Linked DNA regions of Homo sapiens: regions 2 and 3 are each linked to region 1. The links are contacts of gene promoters, found by promoter capture Hi-C in blood cells and fetal thymus (Javierre and others, 2016). All regions are on one chromosome and are shown on one strand. The core of a region is centred on a gene start or on the middle of the fragment in contact, and the rest is flanking DNA. Distances in the headings are between cores, read along the strand shown. Region 1 holds the start of SPR (sepiapterin reductase). Region 2 has its middle 5.4 kb from the start of RAB11FIP5. Region 3 has its middle 26 kb from the start of RAB11FIP5.

Region 1 (4,728 bases), core at 2,031-4,530:
AGTCCCAGCTACTGTGGAGGCTGAGGCACTAGAATTGCCTGAGCCTAGGCCAAGTGCAGTGGCTCACGCCTGTAATCCCAGCACTTTGGGAGGCCGAGGCGGGCAGATCATGAGGTCAGGAGATTGAGACCATCCTGGCTAACATGGTGAAATCCCATCTCTTCTAAAAATACAAAAAATTAGCCGGGTGTGGTGGCGGGCGCTTGTAGTCCCAGCTACTCGGGAGGCTGAGGCAGGAGAATGGCGTGAACCTGGGAGGTGGAGCTTGCAGTGGCCGAGATCGTGCCACTGCACTCCAGCCTAGGCAACAGAGTGAGACTCCATCTCAACAAACAAACAAATAAACAAACAAAAACATCACTGGGATCACAACATTCCTCCGCTCAAAACCCCTCAACAGCTTCCCAGTAGCCTGGCCTAATACTCAAGGCATCCTAGTCTGCCCTCCTCTGGGCACACCTACTCTACAGGCAAACTGAAGACCTGCCACGCCCACAGTGAGCCTTCGCACCTTTATTTCCTTTCATCAGGAATGCCTTCCATCTGCCAACAACCAAGGTCAATGTCCAGTTCAGCTACCTCCAATAAAGCCATCTCTAGTCTCCCCACCTAAAGGAATTGTTCCCTTCTTGAACTGTTGCAAGCACGTTCTATTCTTCACATAGGAATCACTCATGCACCCCAATATTTGCAGTTAATGGTCCTCGAGGGCAGAACATCAGAGAATTCCAGGGTTGGAGGGAGAATTTATCTCCTGGTCCTTGACTATTTTCCAATGACCTGTGCATCCCTGCTGAGAGAGGACTTGCTGCCTTTCCAAACAGCCCATTCCATCTCTGAGCACCTGTTAGAACATTCTTCCTGAGACCGAAATGAAAACCAGACTGGCCTCTGCCTTGGTTCAGGCCCTGGGGACCTCCTGAAAATCTCAGCTCCCTCATAATGCCCAGGGCAGCCTCCTGAGACCAAACGCAGCCATGTGGACTTCTGGAGTCTGCTCTGCTCCTGGTTGTAGCTTACATTTGGTCACTGTTGTTTGTGCGAATCCTTGGGCTGAATTCAGAGTGGATGATGAGTTGAATGTTGGTTGTGAGAATAATTGTGCATGTGTGTTGGGGGGCAGGGGTGGTAGGGGCTGGGGTACTGGAGAACATGAGGAAGAACTTGAAAGCAAGGTGGGATCCAGCCCTGCCACATCTGTGCTTTGTGCAGGCCATTCTACCTGTCTGCCCTGGGAGCCTGACCCTATTCCCCAGGGACACAGGCTACTGGATTTCTGCCCAAGTTGCTCAGGCTTTCCATGGCTGCTCTGTCACCACCTTCTGATTGCAGCAACCTCAAGCCTAAAAGAGACTCCTCACTATTAAGACAGGGGCGCTGTGGCATCAGAAACTAGACCCAGTATCACAAGACTCCCTGTCCTTTGGCGTTCATGAGAGCAAGGGATCTATTCTATTTATCCCAGAATCCTCAATAGTGTTCCAGCACAGTTCAGCCAGGGATGGTCAGCACTCAACAAAGTCTGTCTGCTCTCCATACAGCTAGCATGTCCTGCAGCTTGCCTTAGTGTAGTGCTTTGCTAGGTGTTAGGAACACACATCTGCATAGTGCAAAGGCTTTCCTGTCAAGGGAGGGAAGGAGGCAAGCAAACATATGCAGACAATACAGTGTGGTCAGTCCTATTTAACAATGAGGCAACACTTCACAGGTCAGGGTCATTTTCACATACAGTATCTCATTCAGTCTTCCCAAGTGCCCTGTGAGGCAGGGAGCGTCTTCCCCATTTCACATGAGGAAGGCCTGGAACTCAAACCCCAGTCTTCTCCCAAACTCCATCTAATACCTCAGACCTTCCTGCCCCACCCTCCAGTCCAGGAAACTCCTCACTCTCTACCAGTATCCCCGGCCCCTGCCACCTCTATTTCCCCTGGGTCTGTATTTCCCCTAAGGGGTGATGGGTCAAGATTCAAGGACAAAATCCTGTGGGTTGTTTCCTGGAGGGGGCGGACTAGGCCGCTTGCCCAGCCCCCAGAGGCGCACCAGTGGGTTCTGGAGGACAGGGACGGCAGGACTTCCCACCTACCTGGGGCATAGTTCAGCACCCTCACATTAGGTTCCTCCAGCGCCAGGACCTGGAACAGCATATCACGAGCAGCCTTTCCTGCACAGTACAGCGCCCAGCCTTTGAAAGGTTGCAGGGCACAGAGGGACGAGATGTTAACCACGGTTCTGTTGAGGCCAGGACTGTCCGGGAAGGCCTTCAGGACGCTGGAAGTCAGGCAGAGCATGGAGGTCAAGTTCAGTGCCCAGTAGTTGTTCACTTGAGTGGAGTCACTCAGGTCCACGAAGCCTTTGGACACATCCCCAAGAGAGCCTGAAAAACCAACCCTTAGGAGTAACTCAGTGCAGGCGGGGCTTTCTTCTTCCCCAGCCCTCCCAAGTTCCTCCAGATATCCTCTTCCCATGCAGACCTAGAGGAGGAAGCTGCCTAGCGCTTCTGAAGAGGCTTCTCTCTTCCCCAGCTCTGCGGAAAGACACAGCTGGGGAACCTAGCCATCCCAAGCTGCAGAATGAGAAGGCACCTGCCTTGCCGTGGGGCTGAAGGAAAGCTCTAGCGGTCCTTTGGAGAAGCAGAGAGTTTACTTGTTTGGAGACTCCAAGCCCTGACTCAGGCCTCCGCCAGAGGGCGCAGAGCAAGGGGCTCGGGAAAGTTCTACAGGCGCTTTGGAAAACCCGGCTGGCCAATTTTCCAGGAAGTGGGGGCAGACTGTTGTCCCGACGGCACCGAGTCTTCCTGTACACCTCGCCTCCACTTGCTACTCAAGCTGGAACAACTAGGGCTTTAGATTTCTAGGCGTCCTATCTGACCCCTAGGAGTAGCCCTTAAATTCCCCAGCGGTGGAGGAAGTGGGCGCTCACATGGGGAGTCCGCTCCAGCCCCGGGGTCTTACCCGCGTTGTTGATAAGCAGCAGTCGCTGCAGCCCCTTGGGCCGGGGGAGCTCGCGCAGGGCGCCGAGCAGCTGCTGCAAGCCGGCCTCGGCGCCCAGGTCGGCGGGCACCCGCACCACGCGCAGGCCAGACCGCTCGGCGCCCAGCTCGGCCTCCAGCTGGCGCAGTGCCTCGTCGTTGCGGGCGCTAAGGACAAGCACGGAGCCGGGCGACAGCAGCGAGGCCAGGAGCGGGGCCAGCGTCCGGCCGAAGCCGCGGGAGGCCCCGGTCAGCAAGCACACAGCACGCCCCAGCCCGCCCTCCATGCTCCTGTTCTCCGCCGGCGGCGCTGGCACCCGAGACCAGGCAGGAGGCGGTGCGGCCGCGGGGGGCGGGACCGCTACGGGTGTCGGCGGGGCCGCCCTGCCGGGGCGGGGCGGGAACCTCAGGCTTCGGGCCGCGAGCGCCCAGGGGTGCTGGTTCCCTTGGGATCTGGTTCCCTTGGTTGCTGGTGGCGGAAGTCAAACCGTGGCGGTAGCCCAGTCCGTGCCAAGTGGGACAACAGAGAGGGCCGGCAGGCGCGGCCCACACGGAAAGCCCTAGCCCGGTTCCCAGCGCTGCCGTGTTCTTCGCCCGCAAGCTCAGCCTCCGGCTGGGACGCATGCTCGAATTTCCTCCCAGTTCCAGCCCTAACTTTGCACTACTGACCTCTTCCAGGGCAGGCCCTGCACTGGGTGCTGGGCGTCCCTGGTCGTGGCCAGTGAACACCCTGAATGAAGCTTATGCCTGTTTAGGAATTGAAGTCTCTGCTTGTTTGGGAGCTCACCGCTCTCTGGATGACAGGAGCTTCCTCTGGGAGAACCACAGTGGCTCCAAATGATATTAAAACCTTTCCCTTTTACTAGGCCCTGAGCAGCTCCGTGATCCCACCAGTAACCCCTGCTTCTCTGAGATTTCTGACTCCTGTCCCTAAAAGTGTGTTCCCCAGGATTCTGCTCCTGCTCATGCTACAGTCTCCCTGGCAGCAATTCCATCCACTTTCAGCTTCAAGTTTGCGCAATCATCTGTCTGTACCTCCAGGCAGGTGCTTCAGAAAAATCCACATTTTTTTTTTTCTAGGAGAGGAGGAACGTGAGACAAGTTGGCATGCAGCTACATATATTAAAAAGGAATCTCTTCATGGTTTCCTTCTTAGTGGCCGAGTGGTATTCCATTGTGTATATACATATGTCCAAATATTGTGTGTCAGTTTTTAAAAAACGAATCTCTTTAGAGTTTAGCAAGGGCAGTAAGTAACCTCTGATAACTTAGCCCAATTCCCCACAGGGCTGATCCCTCCCCTGGGGCTAAACAGCAAAGTTACCGCCTTTCCACTATTATTGCCAACTCTAAGGAAGAAACAACTTGGAGGAAGGCTTTTTTCTTTTCTTTTTTCTTTTTTTTGACAGAGTCTCGCTCTGTGGCCCAAACTGAAGTGCAGAGGTGTGATCACAGTTTACTGCAGCCTTGAATTCTTGGGCTCAAGCAATCCTTCCACCTCAGGCTCCTGAGTAGCTAGGATTACAGGTGCGCACCACCACGCCTGGCTAATTGTTTTTTAAGCTTTTGGTATTTTAACGCTGATAAGACTCTGTATATGTGTATACCATTTGAAGTTGCCCTGCTTTTCACTTACCTATTCACACTGAAGATAAAGATCTCATTGGCCCAACAGCTTACTATTTAAAGAATTTTAATAGCTTCTCCCTGCTCTCCAGGCCTTAGAAGACAGGTTGATGAAAGCACGATCCCATCCATCC
Region 2 (4,251 bases), core at 1,009-3,508, 230 kb before region 1:
TCAAAAAATAAATAAAAATAAATAAATAAATAAATAAATAAATAAATGGAATTGTTTCCTTAATTTTATTTTCAATTGTTCATTGCTAGTGTATAGAAATACAATTGATTTGAATGTGTTGATCTTGTACCCTAATAACCTTGCTGAACTCGTTTATTCACCCTAACAGATTTTAGTGGACTCCTTAGGATTTTCTATTTACAAGATCATGTAGTCTACAAATAGAGATTGCTTTACTTTTCCTTTCCAATCTAGATGATTTTATTTATTCTTTTTGCCAAATTGCCCTAGCAAAGATATAAGAAATCCCATTTTGACTTGTACCCTGAACAATTGTTTTGCTCTGAGATGCTGTTAATCTGTAACTTTGCCCCAGCCACTTTGCCCCAACCTTGAGCTCACAAAAACATGTGTTGTATGGAATCCAGGTTTAAGGGATTTAGGGCTCTGCAGGATGTGCCTTGTTAACAAAATGTTTACAAGCAGTATGCTTGGTAAAATTCATCGCCATTCTCTAGTCTCGATAAACCACGGGCACAATGCATTGCGGAAAGCCGCAGGGACCTCTGCCCTGGAAAGCTGGGTATTGTCTAAGGTTTCTCTCCATGTGATAGTCTGAAATATGGCCTCGTGGGTGAGAAAGACCTGACCGTCCCCCAGCCCGACACCCGTAAAGGGTCTCTGCTGAGGTGGATTAGTAAAAGAGGAAAGCCTCTTGCAGTTGAGATAGAGGAAGGCCACTGTCTCCTGCCTGCCCCTGGGAACTGAATGTCTCGGTGTAAAGCCCGATTGTACATTTGTTCAGTTCTGAGATAGGAGAAAAACCACCCTATGGCGGGAGGCGAGACATGTTGGCAGCAATGCTGCTTTGTTATTCTTTACTCCACTGAGATGTTTGGGCGGAGAGAAACATAAATCTGGCCTACGTGCACATCCAGGCATAGTACCTCCCCTTGAACTTAATTATGACATAGATTCTTTAGCTCACATGTTTTTTTTCTGACCTTCTCTCTATTATCACCCTGTTCTCCTACCACATTCCTCTTGCTGAGATAATGAAAATAATAATCAATAAATACGGAGGGAACTCAGAGACTGGTGCCGGTGCAGGTCCTTGGTATGCTGAGCGCCAGTCCCCTGGGCCCGCTTTTCTTTCTCTATACTTTGTGTCTTATTTCTTTTCTCAGTCTCTCGTCCCACCTGATGAGATATACCCACAGGTGTGGAGGGGCAGGCCACCCCTTCACTACAAATATATATATAAACTTATATGATAAACCCAATGGCTAAGGGATAGGGCTTTGCAATAAATATTGGGAAACTTGGATAGCTGTTGGGGGAAAGCAGGTTAGATATTTACCTGAAATCATTCATCAAAATGGTTGCTAGCAGGATTTAAAGAGAATAAAAGAACAAACAAAAATCCAAACAACTTAAAAACTTGAAAAAATCCAAATGAATATTGTTGGACCTGTAAGTTTGGAAGAACTCAAGCTTAAAACAATGGAAAGAATTCAAAGATTTGATTATCTAATTTTATTTATTTATTTAGACAGGGCCTGAGCTCTGTCACTCAGGCTGGAGTGTAGTGGTGTGATAATGGCTCACTGAAGCCAGGACGTCCCGGGCTCAAGCAATCCTCCTGCCTCAGACCTACTCCAACCCCCTCAGTGGTCAGGACTACAGGCGTGCATTAGCACACCTAGCTAATTTAAAAATAATTTTTAAAAAGAGACAGGGTCTTGCTACGTTGTCCAGGCTGGTCTAGAACTCCTGGGCTCACAAGTAATCTTCTTGCCTCGGCCTCCCAAAGTGCTAGGGTTACAGGCATAAGCCATTGCACTCAGCCTACCTAATGTCTTATATCGAAAACATATCCAGGCTGGGAGCAGTGGCTAAAACCTGTAATCCCAACACTTTGGTAGTCTGAGGGGGGTGGATCACCTGAGGTCAGGAGTTTGAGACCAGCCTAACCAACATGGCAAAACCCTGTTTCTACTAAAAATACAAAAATCAGCCGGATGTGGTGGTGCACACTATAGTCCTAGCTACTGGGGAGGTTGAGGCAGGAGAATCGCTTGAACCCGAGAGGTGAAGGTTGCAGTGAGCTGAGATTGTGCCACTGCACTCCAGTCTGGGTGTCAGAGCAAGGCTCTGTCTCAAAAAAAAAATTAAATTAAATTAAAAAAAGAAAACCTGCAGTAAATATGAACAACAAAGTGTTACTATTCTTTTTCTTTTTTTTTTTTTTTTTGAGATGGAGTCTCGCTGTCTCCCAGGCTGGAGTGCAGTGGCACGATCTTGGCTCACTGCAAGCTCCGCCTTCCGGGTTCACACCATTCTCCTGCCTCAGCCTCCTGAGTAGCTGGGACTACAGGCGCCCGCCACCGCGCCCGGCTAATTTTTTCGTATTTTTAGTAGAGACAGGGTTTCACCGTATTAGCCAGGATGGTCTCGATCTCCTGACCTTGTGATCCGCCCACCTACGGCCTCCCAATGTGCTGGGATTACAGGCATAAGCCACCGTGCCCGGCCTTCTTTTTCTTTTTCTTTTGAGACAGGGCCTCATTCTGATGCCCAGGCTGAGGTGCAGTGACATGATCACAGTTTGTTGCAACCTCGACTTCCCAAGCTCAGGTGATCCTCCCACCTCAGTAGGCATGTGCCACCACACCCAGCTAATTTTTGTATTTTTTTTTTTAGAGATAGGGTTTCACCATGTTGGCCAGGCTGATCTCAAACTCCTGGACTCAAGCAATCCTGCCTCCTCAGCCCCTTAAAGTGCTGGGATTACAGGCATGAGTCACTGTGCCTGGCCATGTTACTATTCTTAACATATAAAGCATTTGTATAAATAATAAGAAATTAAGGCTTCAAAGAAAAACAAGCATAGAAAATAGGCAATTCAGAAAATAGACAATTCATTAAAGAAGGAAATACAAATGACTAATAACTGAAAAGAAGTTCAATCTCTCTGGCAATCAAAGAAATGCAAATGAAACAACAAGGAGGCAGAAGCTTTTGCCTTCAGCAAAGAGTTCTAAGATGATAATTCATGCTCATTACTGCTTAGGGTGTATTGAGATAGCTCTCATACTAACCCTATGAGGTAATTTCTTATTAGCAGGCCCATTTTACAGAGGTGGAAACAGACTCAGTAGGGTTCAGTAATTTGCCCATGCTTATACAGTTAGTAAGTGGTGGCACCAGGGCTTAGACCTGGGCATGTGGTTCTGCTATAAAGAGGGCCTGGAAAATAGCTGCAGGAAGGTGAGGTGAAGAACAGAGGGAAATGTAGCTGGAAGAGCAGGACAAATACATGTGAAGTGTCTACATGGAAAAGCAAATGGGCTTAGTGGTACTGAAGAGGGGGCAATGAGTGGAAGCTACACATAGGTGGATGCTTTTCAAGCAAGAACTGTCTCCAATGGACTAGAGAGGCCCAGGAAGGCAGTGAGGACACCCAGCCCTGGGGAGGCAGAGGAAACTGATGCTTTTGGGGTCTTCTTGTCTAACTCTTATGCAGGCTGCTGCAGGGAGTGGGGGGGATCTCATCTTATAGAGGAGGAAACACACCTTTAGATGGCCAAGACCTCAGTATCTGGTGTTTCTGCTCTTTTCTCAACCACAGACAGCTAGCAGACCTGGCTTTTCCTTCTAGGGCCAGGCAACGTGGGGTGGGAGCCCTGGCTGGTTTCGTTCCCCTCCTATAGCCAGCCACAGTCCAGAGCCAGCAGGAAGCTTGAGCTTGCCAATCTGTGAGGGCCAAGGCAGGAGGAAAGAGAGCCAGAGGGCAGGTGAGGCAGAGGAGCCATCTGAGTGCTCTCCACCTTTTCCCCTTTCCTGGTGCTTTGCTCCTCCTTGGCGGAGGAGGAGGGAGGGAGGAGGTAGGAGCAGTAACGTTGGAGAACAGGCAAACAGATGAAACAGACCCGCTGAAGGAGTGACACATTTATGTTAGTTGAAGTTTAGTGATGATATCGTCACTTGCAAAGTCCTTGAAGAATTCACTCTTAAAGTGGGAGGTTCATCCTGACTCTTGTAACCTTGGTTGCCTCAATCTTCGTCTGTAAAATGGGTATGAGAACACTTCCTTCTTTATTGACTTTAAATGGATCTAGTGCTTGGCTGACCAACAAGCTGGTGTGAGAGCAGAGTACCACAGCCAGTAGAGCCACTCAGTCTCTACAATTTTCCGGTTGGAGACTTGGGGAAAATCACCCAAGCTCTTCCTGCTTCTGTTTCCTCATC
Region 3 (4,542 bases), core at 1,064-3,563, 250 kb before region 1:
CGCAGTGGCTCACACCTGTAATCCCAGCACTTTGGAGGGCCGAGGCGGGTGGATCACCTGAGGTCGGGAGTTCGAGACCAGCCTGACCAACATGGAGAAACCCAGTCTCTACTAAAAATACAAAATTATCCAGATGTAGTGGCGCATGCCTGTAATCCCAGCCACTCAGGAGGCTGAGGCAGGAGAATCACTTGAACCTGGGAGGCAGAGGTTGCAGTGAGCTGAGATCGCACCATTGAACCATTGCACTCCAGCCTGGGCAAGAGGAGTGAAACTCTGTCTCAAAAAAAAAAAAAAAAAAAAAATAGAAAACAGAAAAATGATAGAGAAAAATCAATAAAACAAAAGGTCTGTTTTTTGAAAAGGTTAACAAAATTGAGAAATTTTTAGCTAGACTGACCAAGAGAAAGAGAAAACATAAATTACAAAATCACTACTGACCACACAGAAACAAAAATAATTACAAGGAAATATTACAAATTGAACAATTTGGATGAAATGGACAAATTCCCAGAAAGATACAGATTATTAAAACTGACTCAAGAAGAAATAAAGTCTGAATAGGCCTATAGCAAGTAAATAATGGGATTAGTACTTAAAATCTCCCCACAAAGAAAAACCCAGTCACAGAACACTTTACTAGTGAATTCTATCAAATAATTTAAAAACACATAATACCAATCTTTCACAAATTATTTCAGAAAATAGGGGAAGAAAGTACACTTCCGAACTCATTCTGTGAGGCCAGTATTACCCTGATTCAAGACAAAGATATCATATGAAAAGAAAGCTACAGACCAACATCCTTTTTGAACACAGATGTAAAAATCCTTAGCACAAAATTAGCAAATAAAACCCAGCAACACATACATAGAAGCGTATACCATGACCAAGTGGGCTTTATCCCAGGAAAGCAAGGTTGAGTTAACATCTGAAAACCAATTAAGATGAATCACTGTATTAATAAAATAAAGGACAAAATCATATGATCTCAACAGATGCAGAAAAAACATTTGACAAAATCCAACATCCATTGATGGTTAAAAAAAAACCCTTGAACTTGGAATAAAAGGGAGCTCTCTTAACTTGATAAAGCATATCTAACTGAAACCTACCATCAACATTACATATAATGATGCAAGACTGAATGTTTCTCCTTGAGATCAGGAACAAGGCAAGAATGTCAGCTCTTGCCACTTTCAATCAACATTGTCCTGGAGATTCAAGTCAGTGTGATAAGGCCAAAAAATAAGAATAAAGGCATCAACATTGGAAAAGAAGTAAAACTGTCTTTTTTTCCCACAGATGACGTGATCCTGTATATAGAAACAACAACAAACTACTGTTGTCGCCTGTAATCTCAGCACTTAGAGAGGCCAAGGCAGGAGGATTGCTTGAGCCAGCCTGGGCAACATAGCAAGACCCATCTCTAAAAACAAAACAAAACAGATAAACTATTATTGTTAAGATAGCAATATTGTAATATTGCCCAAATGGATCTGCAAATTTAATGCAATCCTGTGACATAACAAGAAATATATATTTGGTCTCTTCCCCGGGTTCCTAGCACAGAGCTGCTAAAAGTCTTGTGATTCCCCTGAGTGATAGGGGTGAGAGGAACACCTTTGGTTATTCATAATAAGCCCCTTTCAACCATACCTGGGTTTATGCTAATGAGGTGACTCTTGGAGGATGGGGGCTGGTTGACAGAGGAACCAACCTTGTAATTAGAGGGTTGGAATTTTCAGCCCCATCTCTTTGACCTCTGGGGAGGGGAGAAGGGCTGAAGATTAATGTCAGTCACAGAAGGTCAATGATTTAATAAATCATGCCTACATAATGGGACTTCCATAAAAACCCTAAATGACAGGGTTTGGAGATCTTCCAGGTTGGTGAACACATTAAGGTGCTGGGAGGGTGCGAGGCCTGAAAGGCTATGGAAGCTCTGTGCCCCTCCCTCCTCATACCCTGTCTCTTCCATTTGGCTGTTCCTGAGTTGTATCCTTTATAATAAACCGTACATGTAAGTGCTTCCCTGAGTTCTGCGAGCCATTACAGCAGATTATTGAATCTGAATAGGTGGTTGTAGGAAACCCTCACTTGTAGCTAAGTCACACAGAAGTGTGGGTAACCTGGGGACCCATTACTTGAGATTGGCATTTGAAGTCAGGGGCAGTATTGTGGGACTGAGCCCTTAAGCTTTGGGGTCTCACACTAACTCCAGGTAGCTACTGTCAGAGTTGAATTGAGTCATTGGACACCCAGTTGATGTTTGCAGAGAACTGAAGAATTGCTTGATGTGCGGGGAAAAAAATCCCAGACATTTGGTTTCGGAAGTGTTTTTGAGTATAGAAAACCTGTTTGTTTTCCCCTTTCAATACCTATCAAAATCTTGGTTGCCATTTTTGCTGAAATTGACAAGCTTATTCTAAAATTAATATGGAAATGCAAAGGATCTGGAATAGTGAAAATGATCTTGGAAAATAACAAAACTGGAGGACTCACACTTTCTGATTTCAAAACTTACTACAAAGCTACAGTAATCAAAACAATGTGGTATTGGCATAAGGATAGACATACAGGCCAATGGACTAGAATTTAGAGCTCAGACCTCACATGTAAGGTCTACTTATTTTTGGCCAAGGCAATTCAGTGGGAAAAGATATTTAATACAGTGTTGGTAAGGATGTGGAGAAACCAGATACCTCATACATTTCTGATGAGAATGTAAAATGGGCTAGGCACAGTGGCTTATGCTTGTAATCCCAGCACTTTGGGAGGCTGAGGTGGGTGGATCACTTGAGGTCAGGAGTTTGAGACCAGCCTGGCCCACATGGTGAAACCATGTCTCTACTAAAAATACAAAAAAATTAGCCGGGTGTGGGGGCGCATGATAGTCTCAGATATTCGGGAGGTTGAGGCAGGAGAATCAGTTGAGCCCAGGTGGCAGAGGTTGCAGTGAGCTGAAATTGTGTCACTGCACTTCAGCCTGGGCGACAGAGGGAGACCCTGTCTCAAAAAAAAAAAAAAAAAAAAAAAAAGAAAAAAGGAAAAGAAAAAGAGAATGTAAAATGTTACAGCCACTTCGAAGAACAGTTTGGCAGTTTCTTAAAAAGTTAAAACGAAAAACTTACCATTCCTAGGTATCTACCCAAAAGAAATGAAAACATATGTCCACAAAGACTTGTACATGAATATTCAGAGCAGCACTATTCATAATAACCCCAAACAGGAAACAGTCCAAATATCCATAAACAGGTTAATGGATCAACAAAATGTGGTAATGTGGTATATTCACACGACAGAACACAGCAATGAAAAGGAACTGCTTTTTTTTTTTTTTTTTGAGATGGAGTCTTGCTCTGTCGCCAGGCTGGAGTGCAGTGGCGCGATCTTGGCTCACTGCAACCTCTGCCTCCCGGATTCAAGCAATTCTACTGCCTCAGCCTCCTGAGTGGCTGGGATTACAGGCGCCCGCCACCACGCCCGGCTAATTTTTTTTTTTTTTTTGAGACAGAGTCTCGCTGTCACCCAGGCTGGAGTGTAGTGGCGCGACCTCGGCTCACTGCAAGCTCCGCCTCCCGGGTTCACGTCATTCTCCTGCCTCAGCCTCCCGAGTAGCTGGGACTACAGGCGCCCGCCGCCACGCCGGGCTAATTTTTTGTATTTTTAGTAGAGACGGGGTTTCACCGTGTTAGCCAGGATGGTCTCGATCTCCTGACCTCGTGATCTGCGTGCCTCGGCCTCCCAAAGTGCTGGGATTACAGGCGTGAGCCACCGCGCTCGGCCAAAAAGGAACTACTTTTTAGTAAAAAGGTCAGGCGTGGAAGCTCATGCGTATAATCCCGGCACTTTGGGATGCTGGGGTGGGAAGATCCCTTGAACCCAGGAGTTCAAGACCAACCTGGGCAACATAGAGAGACCCTATCTCTACAATAATAATAATTTAAAAAAGATGAAAAAGAAGGAACTACTAATATACACTGTGACACAGAAGAACCTCAAAAACATATTATACTAAGTGAAAGCCAGACATAAAGACTACATATTGTTGATCCCATTTACTTATATATATGTTTTGTTTGTTTATTTTGTTTATTTTATTTTACTTTTTTGAGACAGAGTCTCACTCTGTTGCCCCGGCTGGAGTGCAGTGGCGTGATCTCGGCTCAGTGCAACCTCTGCATTCCACATTCAAGCTATTCTCCTGCCTCAACCTCCCGAGTAGCTGGGATTACAGGCATGCGCCACCACACCCAGCTAATTTTTGTATTTTTTGTAGAGATGGGGCTTCGCCATGTTGGCCAGGCTGGTCTCAAACTCCTGACCTCAAGTGATCCGCCCACCTCAGCCTCCCAAAGTGCTGGGATTATAGTCGTGAGCCACCACGCCCGGCCATATTGTATGATCCATTTATATAAAGGGTACAGAAAAGACAAATCTATACAGAGAAAGTAGACCAGTGGCTGCCTGGGCTGGATCTGGTAGTAGGAACCAACTGCAGATAACCATGAGGGAACTTTTTGGGGTGATGAAAATATT

Evidence for each region. Contacts are between HindIII fragments. The CHiCAGO score rates a contact against its expected background, and 5 or more counts as called.
Region 2: a fragment that was not itself captured here is called in contact with the fragment with the promoter of SPR in region 1 in 1 of 17 cell types (fetal thymus); the score reaches 6.4 in fetal thymus.
Region 3: a contact is called between a fragment that was not itself captured here and the fragment with the promoter of SPR in region 1, in 3 of 17 cell types (fetal thymus, endothelial precursors and naive B cells). The highest score is 8.3, in fetal thymus.

The regions. Positions count from the first base shown.
Region 1 is chr2:72,885,960-72,890,687 of GRCh38, reverse strand. It overlaps SPR (sepiapterin reductase), which reads right to left and starts at 3,280. Exons shown (of 3, transcript NM_003124.5): 1 at 2,952-3,280; 2 at 2,084-2,374. The coding sequence starts at 3,255. RefSeq lists silencers at 2,226-2,400, 3,039-3,428. The HindIII fragment of the contact is 9,789 bases long and covers 1-3,710 here.
Region 2 is chr2:73,116,180-73,120,430 of GRCh38, reverse strand. No RefSeq gene overlaps it. Among named protein-coding and RNA genes, the nearest start is that of RAB11FIP5, 5.4 kb to the right of the region's middle. The HindIII fragment of the contact is 1,524 bases long and covers 1,497-3,020 here.
Region 3 is chr2:73,136,267-73,140,808 of GRCh38, reverse strand. No RefSeq gene overlaps it. Among named protein-coding and RNA genes, the nearest start is that of RAB11FIP5, 26 kb to the right of the region's middle. The HindIII fragment of the contact is 223 bases long and covers 2,202-2,424 here.